Regions from separate parts of the Homo sapiens genome. Here region 1 is linked to region 2. The links are contacts of gene promoters, found by promoter capture Hi-C in blood cells and fetal thymus (Javierre and others, 2016). All regions are on one chromosome and are shown on one strand. The core of a region is centred on a gene start or on the middle of the fragment in contact, and the rest is flanking DNA. Distances in the headings are between cores, read along the strand shown.

Evidence for each region. The method cuts DNA at HindIII sites, captures the fragments that hold promoters and counts their contacts. A CHiCAGO score of 5 or more calls a contact.
Region 1: a contact is called between a fragment that was not itself captured here and the fragment with the promoter of SERGEF in region 2, in 2 of 17 cell types (naive CD4 T cells and naive CD8 T cells). The highest score is 6.5, in naive CD4 T cells.

What each region holds. Positions count from the first base shown.
Region 1 is chr11:18,097,751-18,104,152 of GRCh38, reverse strand. It overlaps SAAL1 (serum amyloid A like 1), which reads left to right. Exons shown (of 12, transcript NM_138421.3): 2 at 807-920. Among named protein-coding and RNA genes, the nearest start is that of SAAL1, 5.1 kb to the left of the region's middle. The HindIII fragment of the contact is 8,611 bases long and covers 1-6,402 here.
Region 2 is chr11:18,011,632-18,017,787 of GRCh38, reverse strand. SERGEF (secretion regulating guanine nucleotide exchange factor) reads left to right here and starts at 4,741. Exons shown (of 11, transcript NM_012139.4): 1 at 4,741-4,837. The coding sequence starts at 4,778. TPH1 (tryptophan hydroxylase 1) reads left to right here. Exons shown (of 11, transcript NM_004179.3): 11 at 1-233. RefSeq lists enhancers at 4,024-4,073, 5,432-5,948, 5,949-6,156 and a silencer at 4,454-5,073. The HindIII fragment of the contact is 12,002 bases long and covers 2,629-6,156 here.

The DNA.
Region 1 (6,402 bases), core at 2,772-5,271, 87 kb before region 2:
ATAAACAAGAGTTAAGTCCCTGTGGCATATTTCTGGACACAAGAACATCACCAAACTTCTAAATGAGGACCTAAAACACTTCTAATATTAAACATTGAGATAAATGTGAGCTATAATACGTTTAGGAAAGGTTAATAAAAACAAGATAATTATTCACCCAGTTTTGGTGAGTTAGTGAGTGATGGTGGTTGTAGTGATTATCACTACAACCTTTATTCTTTGATTGTGTTAAATCAAGGAATAAATGTTTACAAAGCAAAAATGATCACCTCTTACTACTGTACAGTCCAAAAACAATAACAAATAAGGCAGGCTTACTGAGCACTTTCCTACCACATAATTATTGTCACGCATCTCTATGGTTATTGTCTTCTTTACAGATTTTTGTTTTATAATAATTTGTATTCATCCATTTCCCAACCCACTTGCTCTGGTTCAGGGTTGAGGGTGGCTGGAGCCTGTACCAGCAGTTCAAGGTGCAAGGCAGAAACCAGCCCTGGACAGGATGCCATCCCATCACAGGTACACACACACCCACACTCACTCAGATTGGGACCATTTAGATACCCGTTGTGCTAATGTGCAAATTTGGGGGATGTAGGAGGAAACTAAAGTACCTGGAACAGACTCATGCACTCTTGGGGAGAACATGCAAACTCCACACAGACAGTGGCCCTGGCCAGGAATCAAATTTTTTTCTCATCAGCGTTACGAGGAAATGTTATTTGATCACCTGCTGTATTTGGGTACCTGGTTAGTATTGTAGACAACTTTTATTCATGTTTTCTTTCTTTGTGTTTCTGAAGATTGTTAGCCCTGAAAACACCAAATCTAGCTCAGATGATGAGGAGCAGCTGACGGAGCTTGATGAAGAAATGGAGAATGAAATTTGCAGAGTATGGGATATGTCAATGGATGAGGTATGAGGCTGGAAACAAAACTCTGAAGACTGTTGGGTGAGGAGATGGTGAATGAATGTTTTAAAAACGGTTCAGTCCTTCACTCTGGGGAAAGGCTTTATCTCCTGTCTGTAATCACACCCATATATGATATAGGGAATGAGATCCCAGGGGCTATAAATGCTAAACTTCTGTCTTTGAGGCTGGAGGATTTGAGCTCTCAACAGATTCGGACTAAATACGTAGCTCTTATGAATGTATTCCTATACACATGTAGGCCGGGAAAGTTCTGATACTTACCTACCTAAAGAGAGCTCTGGCCATATATTTGACAGCAGGTTAGGAGTTAGAAGACCACTGATATACCATGATAATATTAGAAGGAAAGGACAATAAATAATTATATGTCTGTAATTGCAGTATTAATCATAGTGTTTTAATATCTGTATTTTATTCTATAGCTCAAAAGCATTTTCATATATAGTATTCTATTTGATCTTCACAATAACCCTGTGATGTAGGTAGTACCCTTATTTTACAGTTAAGAAAATAGAGGCCAAAAGACATTAAATGACCTATGTAATCTTTCTTGTTTTATTACCTGGACTTTAGCAATAGCTTCCTGATTAAAATCCTTGTTTTAGTCTCTTTCACCTCCCTTCTGTCCTCTACATTGCCACCCGTGTTACCTTTTTTTCCGGAAATACAGACTTAATTGTACTCATTTTCTTAAAAATTGTCAATGGCTATTCATTGTTTCAGTCATTTTATTTAAAACTTTATTGAGGTATAATTAACACCAAAAAACTGCATATTGTTTTGAAGTATCATTGACATTGATTTTTTTTTTTTTTTTGAGATGGAGTCTCTATCACCTAGGCTGGAGTACAGTGGTGCGATCTCAGCTCACTGCAATCTCCGCCTCGAGGGCTCAAGTGATTCTCCTGCCATAGCGTCCAGAGTAGCTGGGAGTACAGGTGTGAGCCACCAATCCCTGCGAATTTTTATATTTTTAGTGGAGACAGGGTTTTACCCTGTTGGCGAGGCTGGTCTTGAACTGCTGACCTCAAATGATCCATCCTCCTCGGCCTCCCAAAGTGCTGGGATTATAGGAGTGAGTCACCGCACCCAGCCAATAAACTTTGACGGATGTGTACGCAGATTAAGCTGTCACTGTAATCAGGATACAGCGCATACCCATCACCCCTGAAAGTTTCTTTATGGTCCTTGGTAGTCTCTTCCTCTTGCCTCTCCATTCCTCCATCCCCTCCAGGCAACCACTGATCTGCTTTCTGTCACTACAGATTAGTATGTATTCTAGAGTTTTATATGAATGTGCTCATATGCTTTTTTTGGTCTGGCTCTTTTATACAGCATAATTATTTTGAGATTCATCCATGTTGTGTATATCAGTGGCTTTTTTTTTTTTTTTTATTGCTGAATGGTATTCCATTATATGTATATACCACAATTTATTTTTTACCTGTTGATGAATGTTGGAGTTGTTTAAGGCTTATTACAGATAAAGCTGTTGTGAACTTTTGTATACAAGTGTGTATGGACATATACTTTGTTTTTCCTTGGGTGAATACCTAGAGTGGTGTGTTAGTCCATTCTCATACTGCTATAAGGAAATACCTGAGACTGGGTAATTTATGAAGGAAAGAGGTTTAATTGACTCTCAGTTCAGTATGGCTGGGGAGGCCTCAGGAGACTTACAATCATGGCAGAAGGGGAAGGGGAAGCAGGCACCTTATTCACACGGTGGCAGGAAGGAGAAGTGCGAGCAGGGGAAATGCCAGACGCTTATAAAACTATCAGATCTCATGAGACTCACTCATTATCATGAGAACAGCATGGGGGAAACCACCCCCGTGATTCACTTACCTCCACCTAGTCTTGCCCTTGATACGTGGGGATTATGGGGATTGCAATTCAAGGTCAGATTTAGGAGGGGACACAGAGCCAGACCATATATCAAGTGGCATGGCTGGATCATACGGTAGGTGTATGCTTAACTTTTTAAGAAACTTTCAATTTGTTTTCCTAAGCAGTTTTTTACCATTTTACATAACCACAAGCAGTGTATGAGACATAATTCCAGGTCCAATTTCTCCTCAACCTCACCAACACTTAGTATGGTCAGTCTTCTTAATTTTAGCCATGCTAATAAGTATGTAATGATAGCTCATTGTGATTATAATTTGGACTTCCTTAATTCCTAATGATGAGCATCTTTTCATGTGTTTATTTGTACTCTGTGTATCTTTTTTGGTGAAGTACCTGTTTGAATCTTCTGCCTGCTTTTTAATTGTGTTGTTTTCTTACATTTTCTTCTAAAAGTTTTATAATTTTAGGTTTTACATATAAGTCTGTGATCCATTTTGAGTTGATTTTTGTATAGTATATGGTGCAAGGATGGATGAAGTTTATTTTTTTGCTTATGGATATTTAATTGTTCAAGTTCATTTGTTGAAAAGACGATCCTTTCTCCACTAATTGCTTTTGTGTCTTTGTCAAAAATCAGTTGTCCACATACTTTATAGTTTGAAATCTTTTCTTTTTAAAGATAGACATCAAGCACTATAGAATTTTCCCTAAATATTTATGCTTTACCAGTATTCCACAATTTCTGATATGCTGTGTTTACAATTTTTTTTGAGACAGAGTCTCGCTCTGTATTTTTTGTAGAGATGGGGTTTTGCCATGTTGGCCAGGCTGGTCTTGAACTCCTGGCCTCAAGTGATCCCCCTGCCCCGGCCTCCCAAAGTGCTGGGATTACAGGCGTGAGCCACCATGCCCGCAGAAGTTCAGAATACTTTCTAATATTCTTTACTTTTTCTTTGGTTTATAGGTAAGTTTCAAATATTTGGGAATGTTTCAGTTATCTTTCTCTTGCTGTGGTTGGTGAACACTGAATCCTTTTAAATGTGTTGAGATTTGTTTTATAGCCCAGAATATGGTTTTAAGTAAACCTGAAATATTTACCATGTTGACTTAAAAAGCATGTGTGTTCTGCTGTTGCTGGGTGGAATATCTTATTCTCAATGTCAGATCAGGTTGGTTGAGAGTATTGTTCAGATCTACTTTCTATTCTACAATTATTGATAAATTATGGTTAAACAAATTTTTTTAAAAAGAAATAAAACCTGTGTTTTAAATGAACTCTTAGGGTGAAAGTCTCAGTTTTAAAATTGAGAAAACAGCGCTACTGTTTGAAGGAGGTTATTGGTGCAGGGCAAAGTCATGTTCTTTGGCCTCCTTTTGCTCCCTTACAAGAGGTGCCCTTGAGGCACCACTCAGAACTGAGCTCTCCACTGACAATTGAGGTCCCTGGCGCAAAGTCTGGTGAGTTTATATCTCAGTCTTGTCGCCTATCGTTCTGTAACCATGAATTCAGTGTGCGAGGACCAGAGACCTCCAGATACTTCCTGCACTTTCACGTGTCCATGGGCACTATTCATGCCGCTCTGCTTAGAATGGCTTCCAGCTGGCAAAATCCTTCTCATTGTTTATGGCCCGGCTTCAATGTCACCTCCTCTGTGATGCCACCCCAGACACTCCAGTCAGAATTAACCTGTCTTGTTTTGGTGTTCCCACAGAATTGCTTCACTCTGTTACATGTGTCCTCTGATGGATTTAAATTCCTTCTCATCAAAGCATAATGTCACCCCTTCTGAAATGCCTTCTTTTCAATGTCATGTCTAAAGTAGCCCGCTTTATCTTGGTTTCTAGCACATATCTTATTTTCTTTGTAGCATTTAGAAATTGTGTAGTTTAGTTGTTTTATATTTATTGTTTGTTCATTTCTTTAGAATGAAAATTCCATGGGACTGAGCCCTTATTTAGCTTGTTCACTGATGTATCCCCAGAACCTAAAACAGTGCCTATTAGGTTTTTCAGAAAATATTTGGGGAGTAATGAATGAATAGATGAATACCTGAGAGGTAGCATGTTGTGCTGGTTAAGAACATAGTCTCGCTGGGTACTTGCCTGTATTCCCAGCTATTTGGGAGGCTGAGGCAGGAGGATCACTTGAGCCCAGTAGTTGGAGGCTGCAGTGAGCTATGATAATGCCTGTGAATCTGTGAATAGCCACTGCTCCAGTATGGACAGGATAGCAAGACCCCCATCTCTTTTAAAAAACAAGACCATAGGCTCAAATCAGACTCATGGGTTCAAATCCTAGCTTTGCTCTGCTGAGACTGTATAATCTTGGGCAGGTTGCTACACTTTTTAAACTTCAGTTTGCTTATGAGTGTAATGGGGCTAACAATGATAACTAGTTGATAGAGTTGTTTTGAGAATTAAATGAGATAGCATGCAAGCCACTTCACTGTGCCTGGCATTTAATACTTGTTCAATGAATGTTAATTTTATTACTGTTGGTGTTGATATTGTTAGGCCACCCTTGTGCTACTCCAGGAATTACCATTAAATTTAAAAATTTCTGCATGTGGCAAAGAATTGCCCACAGGACAGCTTGATCACTTACAGTGAAGAGAATCTGCCATTATGACTTTCAGTTTAGAGTGTATCTTTGAAAATACTATTTTCTCTGACCATGGTCCTTTAGTAAGTAGAGTGTGTCTCTCTCAGTCAGTTGTCTGGCAGGTTACTGGTTTCACTTGCTGTGGAGAATAATTGCCTGTCTCTTTGAGATGTTCCAGGGCCCTTAATTTTCACATAAGCCATGCAGCTTATATTTTAAGTTAAGGCTTCTCAAATACACACCTCACATTTAGTGAAAATCTGAAGCAGTGGACAGCCAGAGACTTAATTTTATTTATATATTTTACATTGCAGGTCCCCAAGCAAACTGACTTAGCTTTTGTGTCTTACATTCCTAGGTGAGATTTGGCTCATTTGGGGCCACATGTCCACTCACATGTCACCTGTGTGTTACGCCCCTTTAGGCACTGTGGCAGACTCTGTAGGAAGAAGTTATGAGGCTGCCACAGTTACATTGTGATCAGAATTTTTATTCTATTGATGATTTTGAAAACACAAATTCTGGTTTTGGACAGGACCCAATAGCAGTTCTTGACTTCTTTCCCCTACCGTGTTTTAAGCTCTTGGAGGACAAGAAGGAATTTTGTTTTTGTTTGAGACAAAGTCTCACTCTGTCGCCCAGGCTAGAGTGCAGTGGCGAGATCTCAGCTCACTGCACCCTCTGCCTCACGGGTTCAAGCAATCCTTCCACCTCAGCCTCCTGAGTAGGTGGGACTACAGATGGTACACCACCATGCCCAGCTAATTTTTGTATTGTTTGTAGAGATGGCGTTTCACTATGTTTGCCTAGGCTGGTCTCGAACTCCTGGGCTCAAGTGATCCGCCTGTCCTGGCCTCCCAAAGTGTTAGGATTACAGGCGTGAGCCACCTCGCCCAGCCAAGTTTTACCTTTTTTTTTTTTTTCCTTTTTTTCTCGCTGTGTTGCCCAGGCTGGAGTACAGTGGCAAAGTCATGGCTCACTGCAACCTTGAGCTCCCCAGGCTCAAGTGAT
Region 2 (6,156 bases), core at 3,492-5,991:
AATGTAAATAATTATTGTTAGCTTTTAAGTTGGCTTCCAAATTCAAAAAAGAAAAAAATCCTGAATTCTCTAAAGGAACATATGATAGAGTCCATATGTTAATTCATAGGAAGTGTTTAAGGTACTATGGTCTATTTTGGTCTAATCTTTGTTTTACTATGTAATATATATTTATGATTTACAAGTTTGTTATTCAGTGGGATAATAAATGAACACAAAATTTATGTTCTCAACCAATGTTTACTTTTTTTCAAACATACGTTAAAAATTTATTTAAAGTTACATTAGCAATTTTATTAGTTTAGGAAATCCATTGTATCTTTATACTTCTTAAAAAGCCTATGGATATGAGATAGAAGCCAAACATATCTGGAACCTGGTAACCACTTTTCAGAGTTCTTCGTAAAGTCTGTGTTATGTTCCTGTCAACGAAAAGAGTCAAACACAGTAAAGTATTTGAAGAGCCAAATATGAGTGACCATGGCCCATGACACAGCCCTTAGGAGACCCTGAGAACATGTGCCCAAGGTAGTCAGGGTACAGCTTGGTTTTATACATTTTAGGGAGACATGAGACTTCAGTCAAATACATTTATAAGATACACTGGCTCAGTCCAGAAAGCTGGGATAATTCAAAGTGTTGGGTGGGAGGTTTCCAGATTATAGGTAGTTTTAAAATTTTTCTAATTGGCAATTCATAGAAAGGAATGTCTGGGTTGCTGTATGAGTTTGTGGAGACCAGAGTTTTATCATGCAGATGAAGCCTCCAGATGGCAGGCTTCCAAGAGAACAGACTGTCAATTTTTCTTATCAGACTTAAGGTCTGTGTTGATGTTAATGCTGGAGAGGTATAAGGAGGCATGTGCGTGACCCCACTTCCAGTCATGGCCTGAATCAGTGTTTCGGGTTACATTTTAGAGTGCCCTGGCCTAGAAGAAAGTCCATTCAGATGGTTGGGGGGGGCCTTAGAATTTTATTTTTGGTTTACACTCCTCATCTGTAAAATGAACTAAGTCTACTACACTAGATTATTGGAGAAGTTATGCTGCAAGAGGACTTTGTAAAAAAAAAAAACTCATTTTCCACATGTAAAGAATTACTAATACAATCACTCTCTTAACAGATATTCCCCCTTAGCTTCTAGATGATTTTATCTTCCACAAGAGGGTATTAATTTTTGCTTCTAGTAGGCAGTATATAATGGCATGGTAAAGTCTGAGTCCAATTAGGGATTGAGCCAAAGAGAAGTTGAGCTTCAGTCTTTGTGAGGGCTGGTCTATTTCCAGTTCACCTTGACTTTTAGGGTGTAGCCCTTTAGGGATCTCAAGAGAAAACTATGAGTGTGTACCAGGGCTTCTCCTTGGGGGCTCTGGACTACTACTTTTGTCCCCTCCTTCATGTCCACCATTCCCTCCTCCCATCCCTACCCTATGAGATTGCTAAAGGTACTGCTCAGCTTCTTAGTTGTTGATTTCAGCCCAGTTTCTTAGCCTCCAAGACATTGCTTAGTAATTAGCAAGTGCTTCAAGCAGAAAAGTAGTGCCAAATATAATCTCTCAGCTTCCAGATCTTGGCCCTTCAAGTTCTTCCTGCTTTGATAGCTCTCCAATAACTTGAAATATATTTTAAAAATATTTTGTCAAATTTTCTAGTTGTTTTTTTATGAGAGAATAGGTATGCAGCTAGCTAATCTTCCTTTATCAAAAGTAGAAAACTGACCTTGAAGTAAATAACTACTTTGAGCCTCAGTTTTCTCATCTATAAAACAATGATCCTGGCCAGGCAAGGTGGCTCACACCTGTAGCCCTAGCTACTTGGGAGGCTGAGGCAGGAGGATCACTTGAGCCCAGGAGGTAGAGGCTGCAGTGAGCCATTATCATGCCACCTGCACTCCAGCCTGGGCAACAGAGGGAGACCCTGCCTCAAAAAAACAAAATAAGATAAAATAATAATCCTAACAGCACTTATCATACTAGTATTATTGGGATGATCACAAAAAATAATCCAACGGGAAAAAATTTCCTAACCTTCATGGTACAGAGATGCAATCTGTATGTTCTCAAATACTTTATACTTTCCTCTTTTGGGGAGATAAGCCATCTGAAAGTGAAGCCATTAGATGGTTTAAATCTAGTCCCATTCAAGAACTGCAATTCAGCCAGGCTGCTCATGGGAAGAACTAGGCAGTGGCGAGTACATAGTTGAAATAGTTGCAACATCTCAACACTTCCAATAAATTGTATTAAGGGATATGACATGATAATATAACTGTAGGTTAGTTAAAATATTGATGCTTGTACATTCAAGGGGTGGAGTCAGAAAACAACTATATTCTCCCAGACCTTCTCTCTATTAAAACTGGCTCTGTAGGTAGTTCTTCCTTGCCCTTCTGGATGAAATCTCAGGTTGCTGCCTGACTTTCTGCTTGCTCACAGGTAATAAAAAGTCCTTAGCTCCTAATTTCCATTTCTCTCTCTCTCTCTCTCTCTCTCTCTCTCTCTCTCTCTCTCTCTCACACACACACACACACACACACACTCTCTCTCTCTCTCTCTCTTTCTCATTTCAATATTTAAAAAGGCTAGTCCTGTGGAAAAACTTTGATAAAACAAACTTTAAGGTTGAAGCTTTTTTCCTCCTCCAGAACTGAGAAAGGAGTGGGTGTGCTTAGTTTCTTAATTTCCTTGTCTCTTGTTACTCAGTGGATGCCTGGGACTCCTCCAGGGTTGGGGAGATGTAGAGGGGAGGAGAGGTAAGGAGGAGAAAAGTTCTTTTTGGTCTGATACTGTTGTGAATTGTCATCAGTGCTTTCTGTACTTTGTAAATATTACATGCTGACATTTTCTTGTGGGCATTTTGGAAGACCTTCCCACCTTCTTATTTCTTGGGATTTCTTGATGTAGGTAAATGTATCTCTCTGGGCTGTTAAATTCATTTCCCTCACCCTCAAGGAATCTAGTGATCGACTGTCCTGTGGGTGTCACTTCACCCTTCCAGAAATTCTCTTGGACAAGGTCTAAGACCATCCCCCAGCCAGTTTGCTCAGGTATGGGAAATACTCACATGGGAAATGGACAGTTTTTATTTTGAAAAACTGTGGGTGTGAAAGACCTCCCCAAAGCATCAGTTTGTCTTTGCTCAGCTATTAGAGCAGATATCCAGCCACAAGCCCTTGTATTTCTCAGAACGGATTGGACAGAAGCCTGTCTGGGTCCTAAATCTAGAGGGATGCATACCAAGCTCTCTCAGGGACCCAGGTAAAGTAACTTTCCTTAGACCTGAGATGGGTTGAGACCCACACCACATTGATAATTGTGGCCACATATCCTACTAGAATTCTCTCTGGCCTCTCAACCTTTTTCGTAGACTGAAAGTCATACACTGGTTTCTAGACAGTTGCTTTGCAAGACCTGCTTTGGTGGTCTTGAACCTTACTTTATGATATAGGAGTAACTGGCACTTGTTGCTCAGCCAAAACTGAGCGGTGAAGGATCCCATTTTTACATCCTGTTACACATGCTTCAAAGAAATGGTCAGCACAAAAAAGCCCACTCATAAGACAGTCAGTAAGCATGGTATAGCTCCTGCACATTCAGATCCCTAGAGAATGAAGAGCTGTTTTATCTCTCCAAAGTTTGCTTTTTTCTTGGTATGGTCATCGACGTTCTCCAGATGCCACAGGTTGGAGAGATAAAGGTGAGGGGCTGCCCTCAAGTGGTCTTACAGGCAGAAACTCCTAAAAGTGGATGGAGTGAAAGAACAGGAAAGGACAGTGTAAGAGCTCATTGGAGACACTTCCCAGAAGCCCAGGGGTGAAGGGCAGTGAGTGCTGGAGGCCCGTGTCAGCAGAGGGGCCAAGTGCTACCGAATGTGAATGTGGATGATCATCTTTAATGTGACCCTATGTGTTCTGTATTCCCGGTACGCGGTGCCATATTTTCCTTCAGATAAATTGAACTTAATTAACTCCCATCAGCAACACGACGCTGTCTGAGAAAAGCCATTTTATATGGAAATGTTCGTTGGGTGACGATTATCCAGTATTATTAATAGAATGAGCTCAGGGCCGTGCCCGGAGCGCCGAGGCTGCCCCGGCAGGAGTCGACGCTAACCAGCCTCCCCCATTCAGCGTCGCGAGGCGCGGGTTCCCGCTCCGTGCCAGGTGCAGAGGGCGACACCGGCGACGTGCCACTCCACTCGCCTCCCAAGGCGCCCCCTCAGATGTTTGCGAACGCACACCAAAGCGGGCTCAAGACAATTGCGCCTGAGACGCCGGGCAGGACCCTGCCCTACCCCTCAGGCTCCATTTCCTGTTCCCGCAAATGGTGATGCCATCGCTGCCCTGTCAGCCCCTCTGGGCTGTCGTGGGCCTCCAAGGAGACAAAAACGCGAAGGAGCTTTGTGAACTGTGGCGCGCAGTGCACCTGCATGAAACATGAAATTATGACTAAAAATAAAGAGTACGAGGGGGTAGGAGCGAGAGGCTGAGAGGCCCAGCGAGACAGGAGGCTGCGGGCGGAGACGCTGCGAGCGCCGCCGGGGCGGGCTGACTGGGAGGCGGCTCCGGGGCTGTCGTCCGGCCCCGCCCACCACTGATCCCCAGTGGCCCGAGGGCCCGGCCGCACCCTCTCTCCCGGCCTGCGGGCCGCTTCCCACCACAGACCCCGCCCCGCGCCCTACCCATCACGCGTCCCCGGTCCGGCTCCGGCGCTCACCTACCCCCGGCAGGCGCCGCCCCCGTGCCGTCCCTCCCGGAAGCGCCGGCGGAGCGTCCTCGCATGGAGCGCGAGCCCAGCGCCTCGGAGGCCGCCCCCGCGGCGGCCGCGCTCTTCGCCTGGGTACGTGACTCCGCCCCCGGGCCGGTGCAGGCCCTGAGGGGCGCCGAGATGTGGGAGCTGCTGGCCGCGGCGTGGGCAGTTCAGGGGCTGGGCGGCTGAGGTCCGAGCCGGGCTCTGGGTTGAAGGATCCTGGGCTGGGAGCGGAGGGGGAGCGGAGGAGGAGCGGGCGGGCGGGGAAGGAAGGGTCTTCGCGGTCGACTTAGGGGCCTGCCGGCTGGCGGGGTCAGGGCCGGAGGGGCTGTGGCGCCGCGGGAAGAACCTGCCTCGGGGCAGAGCGTCTGGTTCCGCGAGAGCCCTCCAGCCCGAATAGCGCCTGGAAGACAGCGCGGAGGGCTCGGTGGAGAGGATCGCCCGGTCCCAGAGCTCCGTGGGGCCACCTGTGCCCCCCACACTCCTGATGCCTGGAGGAGGGAGACCCTGTCCCAGCCTGGCGAAAGCATCCTTTAGATGTGAGGCCTGCGGTGTTTGGCCGCGCACAAGGCACAGACCCTGCCTATTTGCTGACACTCTGCTGTGACCGGTTCTTGCATGTGTTGGGGGAGTTGGGCTGCTGTTGGTTTGACGGGAGCATTGGGAGAGACAGGGTCATCTTGATGTGTGTCTGGGAGAGAGGAGGGTTCATGCACAGGAGCGTGGCAGGTGGCCGACCAGCATGCACGGGAACAAGCAGTCGCTGCGTCTTGTGCTTCTTCATAGCACGTATCACAATTGTAATGATGTGTATAATTTATTATTAACGTCAGTCTCTCTGGCTGGAAAGTAAGTGTGGTAAGAGTGGGTGCTGTGCCTGTCTTGTTCACGGTGCCTCTCTTGGTGTCTGGCACATTGTAGGTCCCCAGTAAATACTCGTTGACGAATGAATGAACGAGCATCTGTGTGCCTACCCATGTGCTGGTGTTGGGGAAATACACATGAGTGAAATACACGAGTGAAGGACTTCCAGCTCTTGTGTTGGGGGAGAGCAAAATTATAACCTGTATTGCTGTTAAAATCAGTATTAGTTGTCCAATTTTTAAAGAAGTAATGATCAGTACAAGGCGGCAATTGTTGAATGTGGGGCTGCAATTTGGCAGGAGGGAGAGCATGGCGTGACCTGCGGTAGTCTGGCTGGCTGGGCGTCTTTGAGGTGGCCCGGGAGCTGGGGGTGGAGTTGGGGATTGAATGTGTGCTGTCTCTGGCTTTTTCCAGGCAGGAGACTGGCGTCTGTGTGGACAGAGGAAACAGAAATATTGTTTCAGTACAGACAAAGCCGAATATTAAAGGTTGTAAAATATGTTTAATAGGTTGTTGACACCCTTCTGCTGTGTTTGGAGGACTGG